Regions from separate parts of the Homo sapiens genome. Here region 1 is linked to region 2. The links are contacts of gene promoters, found by promoter capture Hi-C in human tissues and cell types (Jung and others, 2019). All regions are on one chromosome and are shown on one strand. The core of a region is centred on a gene start or on the middle of the fragment in contact, and the rest is flanking DNA. Distances in the headings are between cores, read along the strand shown. Region 1 has its middle 83 kb from the start of FOXD2. Region 2 holds the start of FOXD2 (forkhead box D2).

The links. Contacts are between HindIII fragments. The study calls those that stand out against the background at their distance.
Region 1: a contact is called between a fragment that was not itself captured here and the fragment with the promoter of FOXD2 in region 2, in 4 of the 25 tissues and cell types used here (bladder, mesenchymal stem cells, mesendoderm cells and 1 more).

What each region holds. Positions count from the first base shown.
Region 1 is chr1:47,518,052-47,524,824 of GRCh38, reverse strand. No RefSeq gene overlaps it. Among named protein-coding and RNA genes, the nearest start is that of FOXD2, 83 kb to the right of the region's middle. The HindIII fragment of the contact is 5,422 bases long and covers 1,177-6,598 here.
Region 2 is chr1:47,436,512-47,442,435 of GRCh38, reverse strand. It overlaps FOXD2 (forkhead box D2), which reads right to left and starts at 4,392. Exons shown (of 1, transcript NM_004474.4): 1 at 1,745-4,392. The coding sequence starts at 4,300. The coding sequence ends at 2,813. It overlaps LINC01389 (long intergenic non-protein coding RNA 1389), which reads left to right and starts at 5,119. Exons shown (of 5, transcript NR_126355.1): 1 at 5,119-5,146. RefSeq lists an enhancer at 2,205-2,974 and silencers at 4,163-4,342, 4,373-5,272, 5,753-5,912. The HindIII fragment of the contact is 12,527 bases long and covers 189-5,924 here.

The sequences.
Region 1 (6,773 bases), core at 2,638-5,137, 83 kb before region 2:
TGAGCACCCCACCCCAAACACACAGAGCTGCAAGACATTTAGGGTGCCCCTGAGGTTCCTCCTTAGACACAAAAAGTCAAGAAAAATTACCTATCATCTCAGGCATGCAGGAAAGGACCGGACAGTAGGGTACCAGAGGGTGAGAAGGAGGGGATTGCTCACGTGGATGTGTCAGGCTTAGAATATCCAAGGATAAGGGAAGGGAGAGAGAGAGAACGATTGCAGATATGCACTAGTGAGGGGTGATGGAAAGGTTTTAGCAGGAAGTCACATGGACAGAGCTAAGATCCCATAGGCCGGGCACTGGTTGAAGGGGGTTAAGAAATACCTCCCACAAGGCGTGGTGACTCACGCCTATAATGTCAGCATTTTGTGAGGCCAAGGCTGGAGGATTAATTGAGCCCAGGAATTCAACACCAGCCTGGGCAACATAGTGAGACCCCGTCTCTACAAAAATTAAAAAATTAGTCAGGCATGGTGGTAAGTGCCTGTGTTCCCAGCCACTTGGGAGGCTGAGGTGGGATCATTACTTGAGCCGAGGCAGTAGAGGCTGCAGTGAGCCATGATTGTTTCACAGCACTCCAACCTGGGTGACATAGCTAAACTCTGTCTAAAAAAAAACAAAAAGAGAGAGAGAGAAAAGAAATAACTCAACTCTGCTTTGAAGGCTAAATAAAGGCCACTCACAGCTTTGTTCCTTCAACAGCAGAAGTTGGCAACTTCGAGATATGAAATCAGAGGCGTGAGCCATTCAGATAGAGAATTTGACACTTGGGGGCAGGGGCGCACCTCTCAGCATCCATATCATCTGCCACAAAGCAAAACAAATTTGCAAGCCAGTCATTGAGTGTGGGAAGTTGCTAGGGAGCAAGGGACAGGAAATGGAAATTGATTACACCTTCCCATTGTCATTCACCCACAATATACAAACTGCCACAGGAGCCTTTTAATTCAGTGTGCTGCCTCTGTGGTTCATTTTCGTGTAATTAAACAGCTCTGAGGCCCTGCTGGGCTTGCTTTTGAGCTCACCATCTTCCACTGCCCCTTCACATCCACCTTCTACCCTTCTTGCTCTCTTCTGTGCCTCCAAGGCTGGCATGTAAGGACTACACTGATAGGACAGTGGAGACTCGGCAGAGTCAGAGGGAGAGCTGGCACACCAGGAATTGGCACATCCCTCTAATTGGAAAGCCACAGCCCCTGGCAGCCAACACCTGCCATAGAACGGTCTCTCCAGTTTTCAGTACCTAGCGGTGGTACTAGCTTCCTGACGTGACCAGCCCCAGAGCACTGCCCCATCCCTTATTGCTTTTTTCAAGCCCTCCCTACACTTTTGTAAATAGTCCCTTCTAGAAACTCACCTCCATACCTAGAATGGGCAAATTCAGAGAGATAGAGAGTAGAACAATGGATACCAGGGGGAGGGGAAGAGAGAATGGGGAGTTCGTGTTTAAAAGGGTACAAAGTTTCGGTTGGGGAAGATAAAACCATTCTGGAGATGGATGATCGTGATGGTTACACAACAGTGCGAATATACTTAATGCCACTGAACTGTATACTTAAAAGTGGTTAAAATGATAAATTTTATGCTATATACATTTTACCAACATAAAAAAAAACTCACCAACATTAGCCAACCTTAGCATGCCATCTGTTTCCTCCTGGCATCCTGCCTGAGATATTTTCCCCCAGTGCTGTTTTCCCCAGCAGGTCCAAAGTCTGTGAATCTTGGACCATGGGAGTTTCAGGACACTGACCTCAAGGTCAGGGCAGCTGGACTCCCACAGGTTATATGCTCGCTGAATGCAATGGAGACCATTGAAACTGAGCTGAATAGAATGGACACTCCTGTGCTACGGACTGAATGTCTGTGTCCTCCTCAAAGTTCATATGTTGAAACCCCAATCTCCAATGTGAGGATATTTGGAGGTGGGGCCTTTGAGAAATTATTAGGGTTAGATTAGGTCATGAGGGTAGAACCTTCATGATGGAATTAATGCGCTTATAAAAAGAAAACATGAGATCCCAATGATTCTCTCACCTCTCTCTCTCTCTCTCCCTCTTATACAGCAAGAAGGCAGCTGTCTACAAGCCAAGAAGAGAGCCCTCACCAGAACCCAACTATGCTGGAAGCTGGCACCTTGGTCTCGGACTTCCAGCCTCCAGAAGTATGAGAAAATTAATTTCTTTTATTAAAGCCACACAATCTATGGTATTTTGTTATAGGAGCCCAAGCAGACTAACATACCTGGGAGGGTGCATAATTCTGGGCTCCCACAGACATACCTGGAAAGGATGGTCACACATGAGGATATTCATGACCTGGTCTGCAAACTTGGTTCCAGACCAATGTTTCTTGTTCTCTGATTGTTTCACATGCCAGTTCCAGCTCCTCACACAGCTGGGGGCCAGGAGATGGATCCTTACTCTGCAAATGTCTATGTGACCTTGGGCAACTCTGTCCCCTCTCTGGGCCTCTGTTTCCCTTTTGTACAATAAAGGAATTAACAGTGATATTCAAACTTTTAACCAGAAGAATCCATTCTTCAAATGAAACCTTAGAGAGAAGCTCAAAGTCAAAGCAAAATAAAATCAGGGCTACTCAGGCTGAGGATGGGGTGGCAGGCCCAGAGCTCCACTTCTTTCCTACATACCCCATCCTGGTAATTTCCAGAAAATACCAGTGTTGTAATTTCTGAACCCTAGGGTTCCATGAGGCACAGTTTGATGATCACTTTCCTAGATGGCCCTGTTTGGCAGGGTGTGGTGGGGACAGTGCTGAGCATGTGTGCTCAGTATAAATGTTTGCCAGTGAATGAAAACAGAACCGGGAAGCACACACAACCCCCTGATCTCTCCTCTCTGCCTCATTTCTCACCCCTCGGAACTGAGCGGAGGGGACTTGGGCCCAGGCCTACAGTTCACTAAACAAGGCTGCTAACTACTCACTCCCTCCTCACCCTGCAAGACTCACTCCCTCCTCACCCTGCAAATAATACTCTGGTGGATGAGGAATTGCCGAGCCCTTGTCTGCCTCCCTCTTGATGGGAAACTTGCAGTTCCCTGGCCGGGGCAGCCTGTTACCTCCGAACACAAGCAAAGGGGCCAGGCTGGGGCCAAGAACAATATTTTGTCAGTGAGTCTATTATAAAAATAATGGAATAAAAGAAGTCACCCTCAATAAGTGATGTGCAAGCTTCCCTTCAATCTGCCACGGCCTGACAAGGGCTAAGATGGCCCTTCCAGAACAGGCATGCAGCCAAGAGCTTTAAATAATCATTAAAAATATGTTTGTGATTTATCACCGGGGACGGGCTGGGCATGAGGCTGTGAGGCAGCAGCTCCTTCAGCACCACACCACAGATCTCACAGCCCCGCCCCTTCCCTCTTCAGCTCTGGCAAGGGGGTAGATGGGCATGGTCACCCTCACCCTCCCAGGTAATCCCTGAGCTGTGACTTCCCAAAGGAGAGGAAATATCCAACTGTAAAAGGTCTATCTCCCTCCCTTCTGGCCAGGGGAGAGCAAATCAAGGTCATGTCGAATGTTTCCCGTGTGTTTAAGGCATTGTTCCAGGAACTGTACACGTATCACCTCATTCAATCCTCCTGACAACCCAATGAGCCCTATGCTAGTATGACTGTGCCATTTTAAGTCTGAGCAAGCTAAGGCATAGAGATTGTAAAGTGCTCCCTGAGAAGTGGACGGGTAGGGATTGGAACCTCATGTGTTTGGCTCCAGAGTGGCCTTAACTGGGTTATGATGCCTCCTAGATGAGGGTGGGGCAGGGCCTTTCTCCTGCCTTCACTCCAGATTCCCAATCACCACCCCCTTTGGTGCCTTCATGGCCTCTGTACAAAGGGAATCCCAGCATCCCTCAGCCCCCAATTCCATTTATCATTTATACCCTGTGAGTAGTAGACATGGAAGCCCCCACTTAGCCCGGCTGTCCTGTACACAACACCTTACCTTCAAGCCCCTTTCTGAGCCTCTGCTGAGGTAAGGCGCAGAGAAAACCCACAAAAATGGAAGATGGCCAACCAAAGTGTGAAGGATTCACCTAAAGGCCCCTGAGTCCAGTAAACCTGATGCTTTGTGGCTGTCCAAGAAGCTGGAGGTGGTCATGCGTGCTTGGCCAAGAAGTCACCTCCTAGGACTACAGAGCAAAGAGGCATGGCTAGGAATCAGGACACGGGCGTCTTGGTCCCAGCTCTGCCCTGGACTTGCCTAGAAACCTGGACAAGGCACTCGTCGTCCTTGGGCTTCAGCTTTATTTTCTGATAAATGATCGTGAAAATACTATTTTATCTTCCAAGGCTTGTAAGAAAGCCAAAGAAGGAAATTTGTTAAGTGGGAGGAGAGGAGGAAGAGAATTTGCAAACTGTAGGGTGCTGGGCCTATGGAAAGACTATTATTATTAGTATTGACTTCCCAGGTGCCAGCAAACTTCTTCCTACATGAACAACTCTCAGGTCAATTAATGCCGGCTTCAAATCCTGGGCCATGCAGTTGGAGCTAGGTTAAAGATGCCTCCTGAGTCAGTGATAGCTCTTCAGCAAGCACAGCTCTTCCTGGAGACAGGGCCCTCCTCAGCAGGCAAGGACAGTGACAGCTCTTCCCCAAAGGCCCACGCTGACCTAAAGAGATAAGTCCTGGCTTATTGTGAGTGACAGACAGGCCAGCCAGGGATGGCCTTGTTCACCAGTGGACGGCTCTGTTTGCTCATGTAGCTCCCTGCACAGATGGACAGAGAGTCTCATGTCACTCCAGTGCTCACCTTCTCCTCTCAGAGGATAGTGTGCCCTTCAGCCAGAGTTCCACAGTCATCAGCAGCCCCAGCCCCACTCCAGGTGCTTATCCTGCTTTGCTGCCCAAAAGCTGCACTCACCGGCCAGTGTCCAGGGCTTTTCTCACATCGAATCTTCAAAGCCACTGTGTGGTCTGTATGGCTGATGCCCATTCTATAGCTAAAGAAACTTAGTTTTAAAAGGATTAACTGCCTTGGGCAGAGTCAAGGCTATACCTCCTCCTGATCCATCATGTCTTCATCCACCCTCCCTCCCTGCCCACACCATCACTGATTCATAACATGATGTATTCAGTCATCCATCAGACATTCTTGGGTGCATCAACCTGTCCTTGGCCCACTGAGTTGGATCAGATAAGGCTCTGGCCTTCAGGGAGCTCACAGTCCAGTAAAACACACTTTGAAATCACAACTCTGAGTAGCACGATGCTGTAGTCAGAGACCTGGGCCCCGGTCCTGACTCCACCCGTTTTTCTATTTTTTTTAGAGACGGAGTCTCAAAACCTTCCCCAGTCAATTCCACCCTCCAGAGGCAAACACTGTTCTGACTTCTAACACACTAGAGATTAGTTTTTTGGTTTTTTGTTTGTTTGGTTTTTGTTTTTTTTTTTGACGAATTCTCGCTCTATCACCCAAGCTGGAGTGCAATGGTGCCGTCTCGGCTCACTGCAACCTCAGCCTCCTGGGTTCAAGCGATTCTCCTCCCTCAGCCTCTGGAGTAGCTTGGATTCCAGGTGTGTGCCACCATGCCAGGCTAATTTTTGTATTTTTATTAGAGATGGGGGTCTCACCATGTTGGCCAGGCTGGTCTTGAACTCCTGACCTCAGGTAATCTGCCCACCTCGACCTTCCAAAGTGCTGGGATTACAGGTATGAGACATCACTCCTGGCCCTGACTCCACTCTTATATAGCCCTCTCTGGCTACCCCCATGCCCTTATTATCATTTCCTATTTATAGGCCAGTTTCTGCCACCAGATCCAGGGACTCTGAAGGATACAGGCACTGAGTCTTATTCATAATAATGATAATAATGCCCTGTGGCCCTTAAGCTGAGGCTTTGCAGTAGCAATCACTAAGCACTGAGTGGCTACAGGCCAAGCTTGGCTAACCACATAATGTGGGTTATCCCTATTCATCTTCACAGCAATCCTCAGAGAAAAGGCCCATGTTTTCCCCCATTTTACCTTGTGGAATCTAAAGCTCAGAGAGGTTAGACAGGTTTTCAAGGTTACACAGTTGGAAAGTGGCAGGGTCAGGAGTCATACTTTGGCCAGGTGAGCAGCTAAGTCACTACTCTTAAGCATGTGCTGTACATCTCCCTTCAGTGTTCTAGTACCACAGTGCCTGAATATGAGCTCCATGAGTGCTTGCTGAGTGAATGAGTGAACAAATGAATGAATGCATAGCTGCCCCACCACTACTAGGATACTGCAGCCATAGCACCCAGACCACCCGTGTCTTAGCTTGCACAGGCTGCTATAACAAATGCCTTAGACCGGGTAATTTATAAACAACAGAAATTTATTCCTTATGGTTCTGGAGACTGGGAAGTCCAAGATCAAGACACTGGCAGATTCAGTATCTGGTAAAGGCTAGCTCTCCGCTTCAAAGATGGTGCCTTGCTATTGCACCCTCACATGGCAGAAGTTCCCTGGACCCTCTTTTATAAGGGCACTAATCCCATTCATGAGGGCTCTGCCCTCATGACCTAGTTACCTCCCAAAGGCCCCACCTCTTAATACTTAATGCCATCACCTTGGAGGTTAGGTTTCAACATATGAATTTGAGGGTGGGAGGGATGCATACATTTAGACCACGGCAATCTGAGTCTCAGGAGGTGACATCTAAACCGAAAGGAGAAGTAAGAGGTAGCTGGGTAGAGAGTGAGGGGAGGGTGTTCCAAGCAGATACATGAGTGTGAGCAGAAGCTAAGAGGTAGCAGGGCCAGTGGAGCAACACTGAGGGG
Region 2 (5,924 bases), core at 3,143-5,642:
ACTGACAGCGCACACACACACACACACACACACACACACACATGCTCACTTGTGTGGGTGCATGTTCCTTCAGTCACAGTCACCCTTCCTCAAGTGAAAATAAACAAAATTAAACTCAGAGACATTTAAGTAGACGAAGCAACCAGCCAGAGACCTTCATCCCAGTATCAGCAGAGGTTTCTCCCTTTATACCATCCAACCTAACCTTACTTTGCCTGGACCATTTGATAAAATGGTGGGAAGGTGGCCCACTCCGTTTGACCTCCCTCCACTTCCACAGTCTCTCAACAAGGAGAGGGTTGCCTTGCCTCTGGCAGAGGGACTGCGTGTACTCTTTGCACCTTGAGCCTCATCTCTTCTCCACTGGTGAAGGCGATGAGAGACTTGGGAACCCCAAACAACCCTTCCCCAGCTCTGGTGTGTTCTTCCCACCCTAATCCTGATTTTGACACCCTTTCTACAGTGGTCTCAGTCCTCCACCTCTTCCTTCTTTTCTACTATTGCCAGCTGCAGGGATCCTAGCTGAAGAGGCCTGTGTGGCTCACCTCTCTCAAGTTCCCTGCATCTGGGTCTCTGACCGTGTCTTCTTCCTTCTCTGTCTGTCACTTCATCTCCCAACCCTTGCCCTCAACATGTGTCTGTTTTCTGTGAAGTCTACACTGCCTCTTCTTGCACCTCTGTTTCTCCTCTCCTATAATCTCACTGGAATATATAGAGAAAAGAGCTAAGCAATCATCTCTGCTTCACCCAAAGATCACCTCTCACTCAACACACTGGCAAGTCTGGCCACTGGGAGTCCCAGGCATAGGCAGAGAGCTGGGAGACTCAATGGGTTTATGGAAGACTCCAACCAGACCAATGGATTTGTACTCAGGCAGTAGCTTCCAGCTATGAGTCTTGCTCACGGGATGGGAAGTTTTACCTTGAGTGTTACTCCACTGACTCTTTCATTCAGCTCATAGTGCCCCTCTAACCCTCTTGGGCTGGAGGAAAGAAAGGTTTCACAGTCCCCAGTCCAAGCCTTTTACTCTGTTACATGTGTTAGGGGGTGGCGGGGGGGGGAGAGGGGATTCCAGACAAGGCCCTAAAGCCGCCAGGGAGAAACCTGTCTCCTCTCAGAGACAGAAAGACAGCAACTGAGAATCACAAACACACACAAAGACATGTTCACCAACATACATAGAAATAATAATGCAGATATTCTGAAATACAATTCACACACACACACACACAAAAAAAAAAGCAAGGAGCTGTGCCGACCCAGACAAACACAAAAACAAATCATAAGTTCCATAAAAGCCCTTCACTCAGAAACAGAGGCATACAGAGTACACATCACCAGATATATTCACCTTAAATTGTACTTAGTGGGTAGAGTGTTCATGAACCCTTAGCACCCAGATCTGCCCAGGCCATGCCAACATCCAAACTAGAAGGACATGAGAATCCTCAGGTGCAGTGGAAACACAACCCCAGGCAAAACTCCAGGCAACAACCTTCTTAGGACTAGAACGAAAATGAAAGTGCTGGAGAGGCCACAGGCTTCCCAGAGATTCGGCCTCATTAACAGCTGAAGGCCAAGACCAAAGTGCCCCTTGCATCCTCTAAGCTCAAACCCCTCTCTGCCTGCTTGGGCTGCCCAGGGGCCTTTCCTCACTCCCCCTCTGTTGGGGAGCTAAGCTCTTCTGGGAGAGCCCCATCAGGGGCAAGGGAGTGCAGGCAAGCAGACAGAGCTGGTGACTGCTGAAGTTCACATACATTTATTCAATCGACACCAATGGGAAATAGGCGGCAGACAGATTTTTCTTTTCTTCCACACAGACCATCAGACGATTTCACAGAGCTTCCCCACAGTGGAGAAGTTTAAATCAATGCACACCCAGTGGACAGAGAACGCCGAGAGCAGCGCGCTGTACAGATATTTACACAAAATTATAGGACCCCCTGCCACAGGGTGTGCCCTTGCCCACTCCACCCCCACCTCTCCAGTCCCTGGCCCAGACCCTTCTCTTCCACCCAATCTCATTGCCTTTAGCCACAATAAATATCACAGGGCCTGGGACAGGGTGGAACACTGACAGGGTTGCTGGCCGGAGATGGCTGGACCCAGCCAGCCAAGGGAAAGGAAAGAAATTCCTTTAAAAGCACCCAAACACAAAAGAGAAAGGATTTTCCTCAGTGGAGTGGGATCCAGGGTTTCTGCAGGGAATATAAAGACCCCCTGCTTCACCTCTCCGTTCAGCTCCGCCTGCGTAGACACTGGTTTAGGCTTCAGAGGAAACGAACTTCCTTGGAGAACAGCAAAAAAAAAAAAAAAAAAAAAAAGGTTGAATTTTTCTTTTAAGCACAAAGCAGATAATAGATGTCTTTAAATTATAATATTGGACAAGCAGGGTCTCAACGTTGGGGAAGAAGTGAGAGGGGAAAGGCAGAAAGGGAGACCCTCTGTTGGTGTTTCTGGCGGGATCCGTGGAGCCTGGCCAGGCATCTCTCCCGGAATGTGTTCCCCGAGAGGCGCAGAGGCAGGGAAAAAAACGAAGCCCCCACCCCCCTGCTTTTATTTCTCAAACTGTAAAGAATCTTGGCCTGCGACTTCTTCGCGTAGCCCCGGGCCTGTCGCCCTGAGCGATAGAGCCCGCTTAGTCCCAACTATCTGCGAGATTCTGTGCGTGGAGCCTGAAGTGCCGTGTCACGCGTGCCGGCCCAAGGTCTGGAGACTTCATAAATAGACTCCCTGAGTTCCGCTGGGACCGCAGGAACTCCCGGGAGAGGCTGAGGAGTGCGGACCTAACCGGCCCTGGGCCTGCTGCGGTCAGAAGTGGCAGCCACTAAGGCCGGCGACTTTGCTGGCAAACCGGGACCCTGAGGACAGCAGCGCGTCCCCGGGATGCGAGAGGCGAATGTGGCCAGCAACGGGAGCCAGGGCCGGAGCAGTCAGCATGGCCAAGACCTGGGCTTGGCCCCCAGGACCCGCGGCTGCCGCGAATGGCGGTCCCGGAGAGCCCTCGCCGGCGCCCGGGGGTGCTGCCCCGCCGCCACCGTGGCCCATGATGTGGTCTATAGAGAAGGAAGGCCTCTGCCCTGCCCCGGCGCCCCCGCCGCCTGCACCACCGCCCGCGTCCGTCTTGAGGCCCTGGCGCAGAAGTGCGGTGGGCAGACCCGCCGCGGTGCCGGCTGCGGGAGGACTCAGGGACGCCGCGTAGAAGGCTTTGGCGCAGCCCAGCTCCGCGCCCAGGAAGGCGGGCAGGCCTGCGGGGCCCGGGCCCGGGCCCGAGCCTGAGGCAGGCGCAGGAGCTGGGGCCGATCCCGCGCCTGCGAACACCGAGGCCGTCGGAGGTCCGGGTGGAGGCGCGGCGGCGCGGCCTGGGGGTACCGACAGCTGGCAAGGAGCGGCGGCGGCTGCCGCGGCGAAAGCGAAGGCGTGCGGGTGCGGGTGCGGATGCGGGGCCGGCCCCGGCGGGGGTGCGCCGTAGGCCGGGAGAGCCAGCCCGTAGCCGTAGCCGTAGGCGCCGTAGGCAGCGAAGCCGGGCAGGAAAGCGCCGGGATCCCCCGCCGCCGCGGCCCCGCCACGCAGCAGCAGCTCCGGGTGAGGGTGCGGGTGTGGGTGCGGCGGCGGCAGGGGCTGCCGCTTGAAGCGCTTGCGACGCCGCAGGAAGCTGCCGTTGTCGAACATGTCGGCCGACTCCGGGTCCAGCGTCCAGTAGTTGCCCTTGCCCGGGTTGCCCGGCTCGCGGGGGATCTTGACGAAGCAGTCGTTGAGAGAGAGGTTGTGGCGGATGCTGTTCTGCCAGGCGGGGAACTTCTCCCGGTAGTAGGGGAAGCGGCCGCTGATGAACTCGCAGATCTCGCTCAACGTCAGCCGCTTCTTGGGGCTCTGCAGGATGGCCATGGTGATGAGCGCGATGTACGAGTAGGGCGGCTTCACCAGCGGGCTCCGCGTCGCCGCGCCCCCCGACGGCGGTCCCGGCCCGGGCCCCGCTGCGCCGCGGGCCGCCGCGGCGCCTGGCCCCGGGCTCCCCGCTGCGGCCGCCGCCCCCCGGGACGCCAGAGCGCGGGGCTCGCCGTCCGAGCAGCCACCAGACTCCTCCTCGTCCTCGGCTAAGTCTGCCTCGGCTTCCTCCGCGGGAGGCTCGTGGCCGTGGGGGAGCACGTCCCGGGGGGCGCGGGGCCCGGAGCGAGCTGGGAGCTCCCCCCCGCCGCTGCCGCCGCCCACCACGTCTATGTCTGCGTCGGCCTCGGACAGCGCGGCCGGGGAGCTCTCGGAGGACATGATCTCGCAGCAGCAGCTGCCCAGGGTCATGGTGCCGCTGCCGCCGCCGCCGCCACTCTCCGGCTCCGCTCCGGCAGCGGCTCGGGCTCGGCCGCGCTGCCTCTGGGGCGAGTGCGTTTTGCGCGCGGGCGGGGAGGGGGCGGGGGACTGAGGCAGGCAGGGAGGGGTGTCCCCCGGCTCCGCAGCGCCCCCTGGCGGCCCAGCTCGGCCGCGCTCACCTTCCAGGGCACGACCCGCCGGCGGCCCCCGCCACTACCCCGGGAATCCGAGCTGGGACCCGCCGCTGGGGCGCAACGGAAGGAGCTGAGGCTTTCCCTTACCTGGGCGGGCCTCAGCCCCTAGTCCCCTCGGGGTGGCAGTGGTTGGTGGTGGGGGATTGTCCCTCCCGCCTAGCGGCTGCCTAAGGCGGAAGAGCTGCGGGCTAGGGCGGAGCTCCCTGGGCGGGGTGGGGCGAGGCGACAGGGGCGGGCGTAGCGCCTCCGCTGAGGGACCCGGCGGGAACAAACCGCCGCCGCGGCGGGAGCTGGGCTCGAGTGGCCGGAGGCGGGCCCTTGTCTTCGCCGCCGCTCCTGCACCCTGTGCTCCCTGAAGCCGCCGCCTTCAGAACGCTCAGCCCCTGGATGTTAAGGCTCACTCGGGCGCCAGCCGCAGCCAGGGAAGTGGCGGCGGTCCCCACCCGTCCTCTCCCCAAGGCGGCGCCCGGGCCACCGGGCCGAAGCGCAGTGGGAGCGCGAGGCTGAGACGCCGGGACCCACGCCGCCCCAGCGCGGCCCGCCGGCGCCCACCCGAGCCCGCACGGCTTCCAGCCCGAGGGGAGACGCATTCGAGTGATCACCAGGAGCGAACTTGGCGCCCGCAGCCTTGGGCCTGGGAGAGGTGAGATTGCGGCGGCGCCCTCTCCTCCCTCCGCTGTCGGGCCCGCCACCCCTCTCCGCGCGGAGAGGCCGGGCAGAGCGCCGGCCGCTGTGGCCGCGTTCCCGGGGCGCGGGCCGGTCTACTGCTCCGAGTTTGCCTGTTCTCCGACCCTCTGGATCTCGGCATCCGTTTGTCTCAGTCTCTGTGACTATCTCACTCTCCGTGAGTCTCTGTGGAAACGGCATTTGTCTGGATGTCTGTTCATGGGTCTGGGAATCCGCTTAATTTCTCCCTCCCCTCTCCCTGGCCCCAGTTGCCCTGAGGACTGGACACCCCCCACCTTCCTGGCTCCCAGGGTTCTGGGCCCCACCGACAGGCGGCAGGACCTCCTCCGCCCCCTGCCCGACACCCCCTCAGTGAACCCTGACCTCCACCAAGTGTTGCCTTCATCTCTCAAAAGTCTTGTGCAACTAAGGTTGGCCCTGTGCCTTGTTTCTCGCTAGCCGGGTTCCTGCCCATCCTATTAGACCTCTTTCTCCCCCGGCCTCCCTCCAGGACCCAGAAACAAGCAGCTTCAACACAGATTGGGCCCATTTCAGCCTCTGGGGCACGGAAGGGGAGATGGGCGCTGGACGTGAGCAGGAACTGAGCGGATGCCTGGGCTGCTGCCCCGACAGCGCCGCACAGTGGCTAAAGCTCGGGCGTGCGAGGCCGGAATCCCAGCTGCCTCCGCTGTAGCAAGGCTGTGTGACCCTCATTAGGTGACTTCCCCGCTTCGGAGCCTCAGTTTCCTGGTCTG